Linked DNA regions of Homo sapiens: regions 2 and 3 are each linked to region 1. The links are contacts of gene promoters, found by promoter capture Hi-C in blood cells and fetal thymus (Javierre and others, 2016). All regions are on one chromosome and are shown on one strand. The core of a region is centred on a gene start or on the middle of the fragment in contact, and the rest is flanking DNA. Distances in the headings are between cores, read along the strand shown.

The links. Contacts are between HindIII fragments. The CHiCAGO score rates a contact against its expected background, and 5 or more counts as called.
Region 2: a contact is called between a fragment that was not itself captured here and the fragment with the promoter of ARF5 in region 1, in 2 of 17 cell types (neutrophils and M0 macrophages). The highest score is 5.4, in neutrophils.
Region 3: a contact is called between a fragment that was not itself captured here and the fragment with the promoter of ARF5 in region 1, in 3 of 17 cell types (M2 macrophages, non-activated CD4 T cells and fetal thymus). The highest score is 5.9, in M2 macrophages.

What each region holds. Positions count from the first base shown.
Region 1 is chr7:127,586,615-127,590,124 of GRCh38, forward strand. It overlaps ARF5 (ARF GTPase 5), which reads left to right and starts at 1,797. Exons shown (of 6, transcript NM_001662.4): 1 at 1,797-1,951; 2 at 2,469-2,549; 3 at 2,871-2,980; 4 at 3,452-3,510. The coding sequence starts at 1,885. It overlaps LOC105375490 (a long non-coding RNA gene), which reads right to left and starts at 3,232. Exons shown (of 5, transcript XR_007060511.1): 1 at 3,142-3,232. It overlaps LOC105375489 (a long non-coding RNA gene), which reads right to left. Exons shown (of 3, transcript XR_007060513.1): 3 at 3,255-3,337. RefSeq lists enhancers at 618-1,244, 1,245-1,870, 1,871-2,497, 2,498-3,123 and a silencer at 1,634-2,123. The HindIII fragment of the contact is 7,240 bases long and covers 1-3,510 here.
Region 2 is chr7:128,109,187-128,112,864 of GRCh38, forward strand. No RefSeq gene overlaps it. Among named protein-coding and RNA genes, the nearest start is that of MIR593, 29 kb to the left of the region's middle. The HindIII fragment of the contact is 9,648 bases long and covers 1-3,678 here.
Region 3 is chr7:128,139,240-128,142,632 of GRCh38, forward strand. No RefSeq gene overlaps it. Among named protein-coding and RNA genes, the nearest start is that of MIR593, 59 kb to the left of the region's middle. The HindIII fragment of the contact is 3,424 bases long and covers 1-3,246 here.

The sequences.
Region 1 (3,510 bases), core at 547-3,046:
AGGGTATGTGAAGGAGGTGACAACAGAGGGGCTGGCACAATAGGTAGGGACCCAACTTATGGCATTTAAATTTTATCTTGGGTTATAGTAAGGCCCTAATGGATTTTAATCTGAAAAGTGGGATGTCATCAAGACTTGTATGACATGTTGGAGGGAACAAGGGGCAGGAAACCTGTGAGGAGACTTTCAGTCATGGGGAACAGAAGGTAGTGACAACAGAGATGGAAGCAAAGAGGCTGATAAAAGAGCTAAATGTAGAATTGACCTAACTTGGTGAACACTAGTTCTGTTATTATATTGGAACTCTCTAAAATGTACTCTTCAGCCTCGTAAAAGCCTTCTTAGGGATGCAAGTCTATGACTGAAGAGAAAAGGAAAGTCATTCACTCACTCATACCTGTTTCCCAAAGTCTGTCCTTGTTACAGACTTTGCAGATCAGGATGGGGCAGGCCCTGGAGGTCTGTTCAGACCCCGTTTCTCAGTGGCCCAAATAACATCAAGCTGTATTATACATAACATTCAGTCACATTATCAAATCATTTTAAGATTCACCATAACCCCTTAAGTTAGAACAAGTCTCATTTTATAGATGATGAAATAACGGAAGAGTTATGAGGAGTGCTGAAGCCAAATCCTCAAGAAATGGCAGAATTAAGATTTGAACTAAAGCCTGAAATCACGTGCTGGCAAGTGGTGGGTGCTCAGTAAATATCTGCTGAAAAAGCAAATGAATGAGTGAAGGTTTTTTTATTCCCAGCTCAGTTTACCTCGAGTCCATAAACAATTGATCCTAGAAGCCCACTGGGAATCCAGAGTAGACATAACACCTACCCTCGCTCCATTGAGAATCTATCAGTCCAGTTCAACTGAACAAGCATTTGTTAGGCCTAATAATGCCTGGCAATGAGCCAGTCTCCACCGCAGAAGAATTTCATTCCTATTTTGCTATTCTCCTCTCAGATGTTAAAATGAGGCAGGGAAATGACATGTGAAGCTCTTTGGGTCTACGGAGTCAAGATCTTCACAAAATCCTGAATGGATGTGCAAGAATAAGCCAGGTCCACAAGTCTGTGGCAAAGTGAGGAACTTCGGCAAAGCGGCCAGCGCCTGGACTGAGAGGCGGGGCCCGCAGGGCGATCCAAACGAAGGTGGACTTCTCCAACAGCCCAGGAGTGGGTCTGTGACCCCGCCGCCCAAGGCCGGGAATCTTACACTGGTTCTGCGGATTGGGAATTAGGAAGTAGGCGTTTTGAGGAACCATGGAAGCTAGCTAGCACTCGGGCACCTTCCCCTACCTCCCGCGCACTCTTCACACGACCACCTACTACGCGCAAGTCCCTCGGTGGAAGATGAGGCAGTAAAGGGAGGACCAAGACCCCTAATCGCAGCTTCCACTCCCCAAAGGAGAGTGGTGCACACGTTCAGTGCTACTGGTTCCCAAGGGCTAAAACCGGAGCCCCTAGGGGCCTGGACGCAACAAACCAAAGCCCAGCGGCCGGCCACTGAAAATGGGGGCAGGGGCCGCTGCGGAGCGATGAATCCTTTCCTCAGCCGCGCTCGGGCTGCCGGTTCGGCGGCCACAGGCCTGGCAGGCGCGTTAGAGACCTAGACCCGTTCCCAAGTAAGGGCCGCACGGGACCCAGGCCAGCAGCGGCAACTCGCGGAGCTTCAGCTCCCCTAGGAGCCAGAGCCGGGGGAGGCGGGGCCGAGAGCCGGGGGCGGGGCCCGGACGGGGGCGGGCCCGCGGTGACGTCGGGAGGGCAGCGACGCGCGGAGGCGGCGGCGGAGCCTCCTCCTGCTGCTGCTGCGCCCCATCCCCCCGCGGCCGGCCAGTTCCAGCCCGCACCCCGCGTCGGTGCCCGCGCCCCTCCCCGGGCCCCGCCATGGGCCTCACCGTGTCCGCGCTCTTTTCGCGGATCTTCGGGAAGAAGCAGATGCGGATTCTCATGGGTGAGGCAGATCGAGCGCGCGGCCCGGACCGGGGCGCCGGCCCCGGCGCAGCCCTTCCGCCCCCGCGTCCCTCCAGCCCCGCTCACCTGGGTCTCTGGCCCCGAGTCACCCACCTCATAACGCCCCGGGGCCTCTGCTCTCGGGCGGGTCCCGGTCTGCATCGCCGACCCCGGGGCCTGACACCCGGAGCTGCGGGCCTGGGTGGGGTGAAGCTCCCTCCGCCCCAGCCCGGCTGGTAAGAAGGGAGGATTCCGCCCTTGGAGACGACTTTTAAAACGAGCGCGGCCTACCTCCCGTGCCCCTTGCCTCCCAGTCCTCTCCCGCTCCGCGCCCTCTTTGGAGTTGGCTCACGCCACCCGACTGCCCTCCAGGCCTCAAAGGTAGATAACGACGCGCACCTGGAGGCGCTCCCGCTCTCCGCCCCAGTCACCATCAGCTGTTGTGGCCTCTCCCTTTCCCTGGTCTCTAGGGGGCTCCCTCGCTCCCATCTCCATCCCTGTGCCCCTTTCCGTTGCAGTTGGCTTGGATGCGGCTGGCAAGACCACAATCCTGTACAAACTGAAGTTGGGGGAGATTGTCACCACCATCCCAACCATAGGTGAGCCCGGGGACGAAGCAGGGAGCGGGAGCGCCGCGGCGGGCCCTCGCGGGGTCTGCTCCCAGTTCTGCCACTTTTCTGGAGCTGACCCTGACACCAGATACAGCTATTTGAGAAGTGGGTCAGGGTATCTCTACGTGGATACCGGAGGCAGGGTGGATGTGACCTAGCCCCGCCCTGTTGACCGCCAGTTCTGGGGTTCTGTTCCCCTGGGCCTTGATCATTGCCTTCTGGTTTTGTGTCCCTGCTGAAATCTAAGTAGTTTTAGTGAGTTCCTTTCTTTCAGGAGTTTTCTCATCTTTTTTTTCCAATTATCTGCAGGCTTCAATGTAGAAACAGTGGAATATAAGAACATCTGTTTCACAGTCTGGGACGTGGGAGGCCAGGACAAGATTCGGCCTCTGTGGCGGCACTACTTCCAGAACACTCAGGTGGAGTGTTGGGAGGGGACTTTCTAACCCCACGGGAAAAGGTGTTAGGGCTGGGAGAACAGAATTGTTGGCCTAGGCTGGGCCCCCAGGCCAAGGAAAAAACCCTTCCCCACTTCTACCCCTTCTGTTTGGCTATCCCCTACTCACTCTTCAGAACTCACCTTAGTCTTCCCCAGCTTGGACTTCTCTTTAGAAGCAGGATTCTGGGACCAGGCTGCCTGATTTAGCCCTCATAACATGTCTTTATTTCCTTGCACATCTTTGGATAAACTACTTCCTCTTTGCAGTGGGGTCTCTAGTTTGTGCCATGACTCCTGTAGAGCTTCTATAGAGTTCTGTAAACTTCTGTAGAGTTTACTAGATGAGAAGGATTGACACAATTACAAATGGGAAGAAAACAGAAAGGGCCACACTACGGTATGTCCCAGGCAGAAGTGATTGCTTCTCCTTTCTTCCTTCCTTCCTGCCCAGGGCCTCATCTTTGTGGTGGACAGTAATGACCGGGAGCGGGTCCAAGAATCTGCTGATGA
Region 2 (3,678 bases), core at 249-2,748, 520 kb after region 1:
GCGTGTTACTGAGTTGTTTCATCTTGCAAACAGGAGGAAACGGTAATAAATAGATCCCGAGGCATGTCAATGTGACCTAGCTAGACCTGTCTGAGACGCTGATCCACCAAGACCTGTTCCCAGGTGGGTTGACAAAGGCCTGTGTCCCAACAAGTGTAGGGCAAAGGGCAGCCTGGGCCACTTGGAGGTGACCCAGCAGCAGCTGTGTATATGTGGTCAACATACGCGACACATCCAGAGCTCTGACAAAGCCCCTCAATCCAAAAATATGTCTCGCTGCCAGCATCAGGGGTTCCTTTCTTTGAGCTAAAGCCTCTTCTGTATCGGGGGAACCCGCCCCCAGTATTTCAACGTAGGCTCTTTCTATTTTCCATAAGTGTCAGCCAGCTGAGAAATAAGGAGAGAGTACAAAGAGAGGAATTTTGCAGCTGGGCCGCCGGGGGCGACATCACATATCGGTAGGACCGTGATGCCCACCTGAACCTCAAACCAGCAAGTTTTTTATTAAGGGTTTCAAAAGGGGAGGGTGTCTAAGAACAGGGAGTAGATCACATGCTTCAAAGGGCAAAAAGGAGAACCACTGATAAGGGTCTGTCTTCAGCAGTGCACATATTGTCTTGATAAACATCTTAAACAACAGAAAACAGGGTTCGAGAGCAGAGAGCTGGTCTGACCACAGATTTACCAGGGCCCGGTTTTTCCCCACCCTAGTAAGCCTGAGGGTACTGCAGGAGACCAGGGCATATCTCAGTCCTTATCTCAACCACATAGGATAGACGTCCCCAGAGCGGCTGTTTATAGACTCCCCCCAGGAATGCATTCCTTCCCCAGGGTATTAATATTAATATTCCTTGCTAGGAAAAGAATTTAGTGATATCTTCCCTACTTGCATGTCCATTTATAGGCTCTCTGCAAGAAGAAAAATATGGCTCTTTTTGCCCTACCCCTCAGGCAGTCAGACCTTATGGATGTCTTCCCTTGTTCCCTAAAATCGCTGTTATTCTGTTCATTTTCAAGGTGCACTGATTTCATATTGTTCAAACACACATGTTTTACAATCAATTTGTACAATTAACACAATTATCACAGTGGTCCTGAGGTGACGTACATACTCAGCCTATGAAAGTAACAGGATTAAGAGATTAAAGTAAAGACAGGCATAAGAAATTATAAAAGCATTATTTGGGAACTGATAAATGTCCATGAAATCTTCACAATTTATGTTCCTCTGCCACGGCTCCAGCCAGTCATTCCATTCGGGGTCCCTGAGTTCCTGCAACACTTCTGCACAGAAATGCAAAATACACACACACACACCCCACCCCGCCCCTAGGACTCATTTTGTTAGCGATCATTAACAGTTTCAGCCATTAGCTCTCAAGTTGGTTTGAATTTGTTGGTAGGATTAGCTCCCTATCACCTGAAAAGCTGAGAAAAGAAGGCCTAAGGGAATGAGACACATGTCTGAGAAGAGACAGAAAGAGAGAATGTGTGTGTGTGTGTGTGTGTGTGTGTGTGGCAACTACTGAAGGTGGGTAGGATGCTAGGGGCCTGGGTTCCCCAGGGAAGGCCCTGGGTTTGAAAAGAGCCCCAAATGAAGCCAGGATTGCTGAAGACAAGCATGTGAGTTTGCCAAGAGCTGCCCAGGGGTCTGAGGTGTCAGTCCACCCCTCTGCTCCCCACTCAGGTAGGGGCAGGTCCGGAGCTGCAGCATGACAGGGAATTTCAGGCCCGGAGGTCTTCCCACTTGTCACCTCTGTTTCTTCTTCTCTGCCCAGGTGGTGCACATTCTGAAAGGCTCAGATTTCTTTCATTCAACCTCCTTTCTTCCTATTTTTTCTTATTGTCTGGCTCTTTCCTGCAGAAGGAAGGAGAAGAACTGGGTGTAAACCTTGACTCTGAGCTGAGGGCTCAGATGCTGGCTGAACTTCTCATTTGCACCAGGTGTAGGAGGGAAGTGGGCAGCCCAGCACAGAAGCAGCTCTCTGGCAAACAGCTTCCTCTGTAGGCCTCATGCCCTCCAACTGCAGTGCCCTCTGACCTTGTCACACTGCAGGTAGGGGACAGAACTAAGGAGCATCTGCACAAGCACCTGGCTGTAGTGAACTGAATAGTGTTCCCCCAAAAGATATGTCCAAGTCCAGACCCCTAGTACCTGTGCATGTGACCTTACTTGGAAATAGGGTCTTTGCAAATATAATTAAGATAGTACTTGTCTTAGTCCATTCAAGCTGCTAAAAGAAAAAAATATCACAAACTGGGTGGCTTATAAACAACAGAATGTATTGCTCATAGTTCTGGAGGCTGGGAAGTCCAAGATCAAGGTGCTGGCAGGTTCAGTGTCTGGTGTGGATTTGGATTTGCTCTCTACTTCACAGATGGCACTGTTGTGCTGTGTCTTTACATGGTAGAATGGGATAGTTAGCTCCCTGGGGGTTCCTTTTTTTTTTTCTGAGTCAGTGTCTCATTGTGTTGCCCAGGCTGGAGTGGCCCAGTCTTGGCTCACTGCAACCTCTGCCTCCCAGGTTCAAGCAATTCTGCCTCCGAAGTCTCCCAAGTAGCTGCCTCTAGTCTCCCGAGTAGCTGAGGCTACAGGCATGCACCACCATGCCTGGATAATTTTTGTATTTTTTTAGTGAAGACAGAGTTTTGCCATGTTGGCCAGGCTGGTCTTGAACTCTTGACCTCAGGTGATCTGCCTGCCTTGGCCTCCCAAAGTGCTGGAATTACAGGCATAAGTCTATGCACCTGGCGTCTGGGGTCCCTTTTATAAGAGCATTAATGCCATGAGGACAGAGCCCTCACGAACTCATCATCTCCCAAAGGCCCCACCTTCTAACACTGTCACACGAAGGATCCAGTTTCAATGTATGAATTGTATAGAAAACATTCAGACCACAGTCATAAGAATTTCAAGATGAGATCCAGGGTGGGCCCTAAATTCAGCGACTGCTGTCCTTACAGGGGAAAGGAAAGGGCGACGTGAGACACAGGGGAGAAGACTGTCTGAGGAAGGCAGGCAGAGCCGCAGAGATTTAGAGTTATGCAACCCCAGCCAAGAAACACCACAAGCCACCAAAAATTAGAAGAGGTAAGCAATTCTTCCCTAGAGCTTTCCCATAAAGAGAACATGGCCCTGCTGATTTTGCAGAAAAGAGAAACTGAGGCACCAAACTACATCAGCACTCCCTGGGCATGGAAGGCTGGGCGCACAGCAGCACCAGCCAGGGCAGAGACGGTGCTGGAAGTCGATGCCCTGCCTCCCAGCTGAAGCCTTCCTACCGCCTCCCTCGGGTGCTTCCTTTCACTCAGCCCCTTCAGAGCCAGAAGGCGTGGCCCACAGCAGTGTAGGAGTGCCCACGGCCCCGGGACCCCTGGCTGTAACCACACCCTCAGCTGCACCCTCAGGAGACCTTGCCTCCTGCTCCCTCTCCAGCGGCAGCGAGGGCAGTGCCAAGCTCACACCCTCCCAGAAGTGATTTCATGCCCCATAAGACGGGCAATCAAAAATAATAGACACACAGCAACCTGCCTGGGGCCTGCTGCTGCGGCGGGCGGCTGCTGAGGTGGCTACCTGGAAGATAAACCAATTCCCAGCCCCGGTGGGGAGAAATAACAGCATCAGTGAGGAGCAGGAGCTTCATCTTAGTCTGCAAAGCCCCAGCCAATAAGCAGGCT
Region 3 (3,393 bases), core at 285-2,784, 550 kb after region 1:
TATAAGTAACATGCTTAAAACAAAACCATGAAATATAATTGAAATTAAAGACATGGAAAAGATATATCATAAAAAATACAAAACAAAGGAAGTTAATATAGCAATGCTAATATCAGACAAAGTTGGGCTTTTTGTTGTTGTTGTTGTTATTGTTTTTGAGACAATGTCTCTTTCTGTCGCCCATGTTGGAGTACAGTGGCATGATCATGGCTCACTGCAGCCTTGGCCTCCCAGATTCAAGCGATCCTCCCACCTCAACCTCCTGAATAGCTAGGACTACAGGTGTGCACCACCATGATGGCTAATATAAAAAAAAAATTTTTTTGTAGAGACAGAGTCTCACCATGTTGCCCAGTTCACCATGTTGAACTCCTAAACTCAAGCCACCTGCCTGCCTCAGCCTCCCAAAGTGTTGAGATAATATGTGTGAGCCACTGACCCAGCCAATTACATTTTTAAATGATTTTAAATGTAGTAAAAATAAACCAAACAAACAAATACTGATATGATTTGGCTCTGTGTCCCCACTCAAATCTCATCTCGACTTGTAATCCCCAGGTGTGGAGGGAGCAACCTGGTGGGAGGTGACTGGATCATGGGGGCGGTTTCCCCCATGCTGTTCTCCTGATAGTGAGTGCACACAAGATCTGATGCTTTAAAAGTGTTTGGCAGTTCCCCCTCTTCTCTTTCTTTCTCTCCCTCCCTGCCTCCCTCCCTCCCTCTTTCCTTTCCCTTCTCCCTCTCTTCTACCACCTTCTGAAGAAGGTACTTGCTTCTCCTTTGCCTACCCTCATGATTGTAAGTTTCCTGAGGCATCCTCAGCAATGTGGAACTGTGAGTCAATTAAACCTCCTTTCTTTATAAATTACCCAGTCTCAGGTGGTATCTTTATAGCAGCATGGGAACAGACTAATACAAATACCATTTTCACATTTTGAGAAACTTAATTTACAGTTTGAAAAAAAATCAAATGAGATGTACAAAGTATTTATAACTGAGTAACAGTGAGAGTTTTACATATCAAAACTTATGGAATGCAGTTAAAGCAGTGCATGATGATAAATTTATCATCTTAAATAAATTTATTAAGGAACAAAACAAAATAATAACAATTGAGTTAAGCATTCACTGCAAAGAGCTGGAAAAAACCAACAATTAAAAAATAAATGGAAGGAAATAATAAAGACGTAGAGTAGAGATTAGTGAAATAGAAAACAATAGAAAAGATTAACAACATAAAATCAGGTTGAGGAATAAAAGTCATAAGTTATATTAAGAATGAAGAGGAGTATTAGTATTACTATGGATAAAGGTAAAACTAGAAACTCATCAAATTAGCCAAGCACATAACAGTCTAAAATTAAAAACTACCTTCCCCAGACTCCCTTGCAGCTAGGTGGGCTCCCATGAATCTGTTCTGGCCAGTGGGATGTAAATAGAAATGATGAGCCCTGGCACAGTGGCTCATGCCTGTAATCCCAGCACTTTGGGAGGCCGAGGCAGGCAGATCATGAGGTCAGGAGATCAAGACCATCCTGGCTAACATGGTGAAACCCCGTCTCTACTAAAAATACAAAAAATTAGCTGGGCGTGGTAGCGGGCGCCTGTAGTCCCAGCTACTTAGGAGGCTGAGGCAGGAGACTCCAGCCTGGGCAACAGAGCGAGACTCCGTCTCAAAAAAAGAAAAAAAAAAAAGAAATGATGTGTAAAACTTCTATGAAGTCCCATTATAAAGTCCTTAGGGGGATGGCAGGGGGATGCCCTTCCCTTTCCTTTTTCTCATTCCTGCATCCTGGAATGCAGACTTGCTGGCTAATGTTAGAGCAGCCATTTTGGACCATGAGATGTGAGCCTCATATTGAAGACAGAGGAGAAAGAATGGAGAGAGCCCAAGTCTCTAAGGATTTAGGAACTTGCACTCCAGCTTGGGACTGCTGATAGAAATAAACTTCAGCCCATTGTGGTAGTGCACACCTGTAGTCCCAGCTACTCAGCAACTGAGGCTGAGGCAAGATGATCACTTGAGCCCAGGAGCTCAAGGCTGTAGTACGCAGTGATTGTGCCTGCAAATAGCTAGTGCATCCCAGCCTGGGCAGCATGGCAAGACCCCATATCTATAAATAAATAAACTTCTAACTTGTTTAAACTGCTCTTTTGTGCTATTTTCTGTTGCTTATAATCAAAACATAAACTTGTGTAATGAAACTGGCAAAAAGGATCTATCAAAAAACTAGTGGCAAACACAGCATAGGAGTCCCTTTGGAATCATTCCTACAGAAATCAGAACCAAGACAAAAATTCCTGCTAGCACTTCTACTCAGAATTGCATGTGAGAGCCTATGCAAAATGACAAAAAGGAAAAAGAGCAAGAAAAGATGTAAGAATAGAAAGAAAGAAAACACTGTTGTTAGTTGCAGATGTAATGAATTTCCTACATAAAAAATGTAGGCTTTCAGGCAAAGACGGCAAATTGAACGCATGAATCTAATTTTTTTTCCTCCTGATATTCCACTAAAATTACAGCAAAGGGATTTTAAAATATAGACATAACTCTACAAGGACAAGAAAAACAGGAGAGAAGTTACGAGCAATAACATTTTAGAAACTGGGAAGCAGATGGGAAAGAAGTTGCTGACTTAGCAGGTCCAAGAATGCCATATCCCAAGCTGACAGTGGTTAAGTAGGACACCACCTGACCCAGCGGCATCCTCACAGCCTCTGCCACTGCTGGGATGGGGTGTGATGGATGGGGATAAATAGGGATAACTGATTGAAAGCTGTTTAGGAAGCAGTTAGACCCAGGATCTCAGCACTCTCCTAGTTTTACACTGCAAAGCAATGCCCTCTCCCACCCTGGCAGAAGCTGGGGGAAGTATTTTTCTGGACTGAGAAATCCAGTTATGGAGACTGTATCCAAGAAAGAGAGAATTATTAATATATGCTTCACGAACGCTGAAACTGTCTGGCGTTCTTTGCTATTAGGTTCCCAAAAAGAAAGACCTAAAAGTACTAACACTGGGCTCCACCAAACCATCCATCCGGATGGCTCGGCAAAGAAGCTCAGAGTTGACATTCCCACCCCACCTCCCACCCCTCCCATGGGCTCAGAGCTTTCAAACAGCATTGTGGCTTCTCGCTCTTGGTCATAAGCAGACAACCAAGGATTATCAACATCTGAAGAAAGCCTCTAACCTGAAAAATAGGGGCCAATAAAGAACAAGCTGGCAGAAACAGACTATAAAAGAAAGCTTTAAGAAATAAAAAGAGCTATCATACATATCTTCAAAGGCAAAAAGAGACATTTTGCATGCATGAAATGAGAACAGGATGCAGTCTGTTTCTTACCAGGAAGCTGGACTAGCATAACTTCTGGCTCCTTCTCTAGAGATCAAT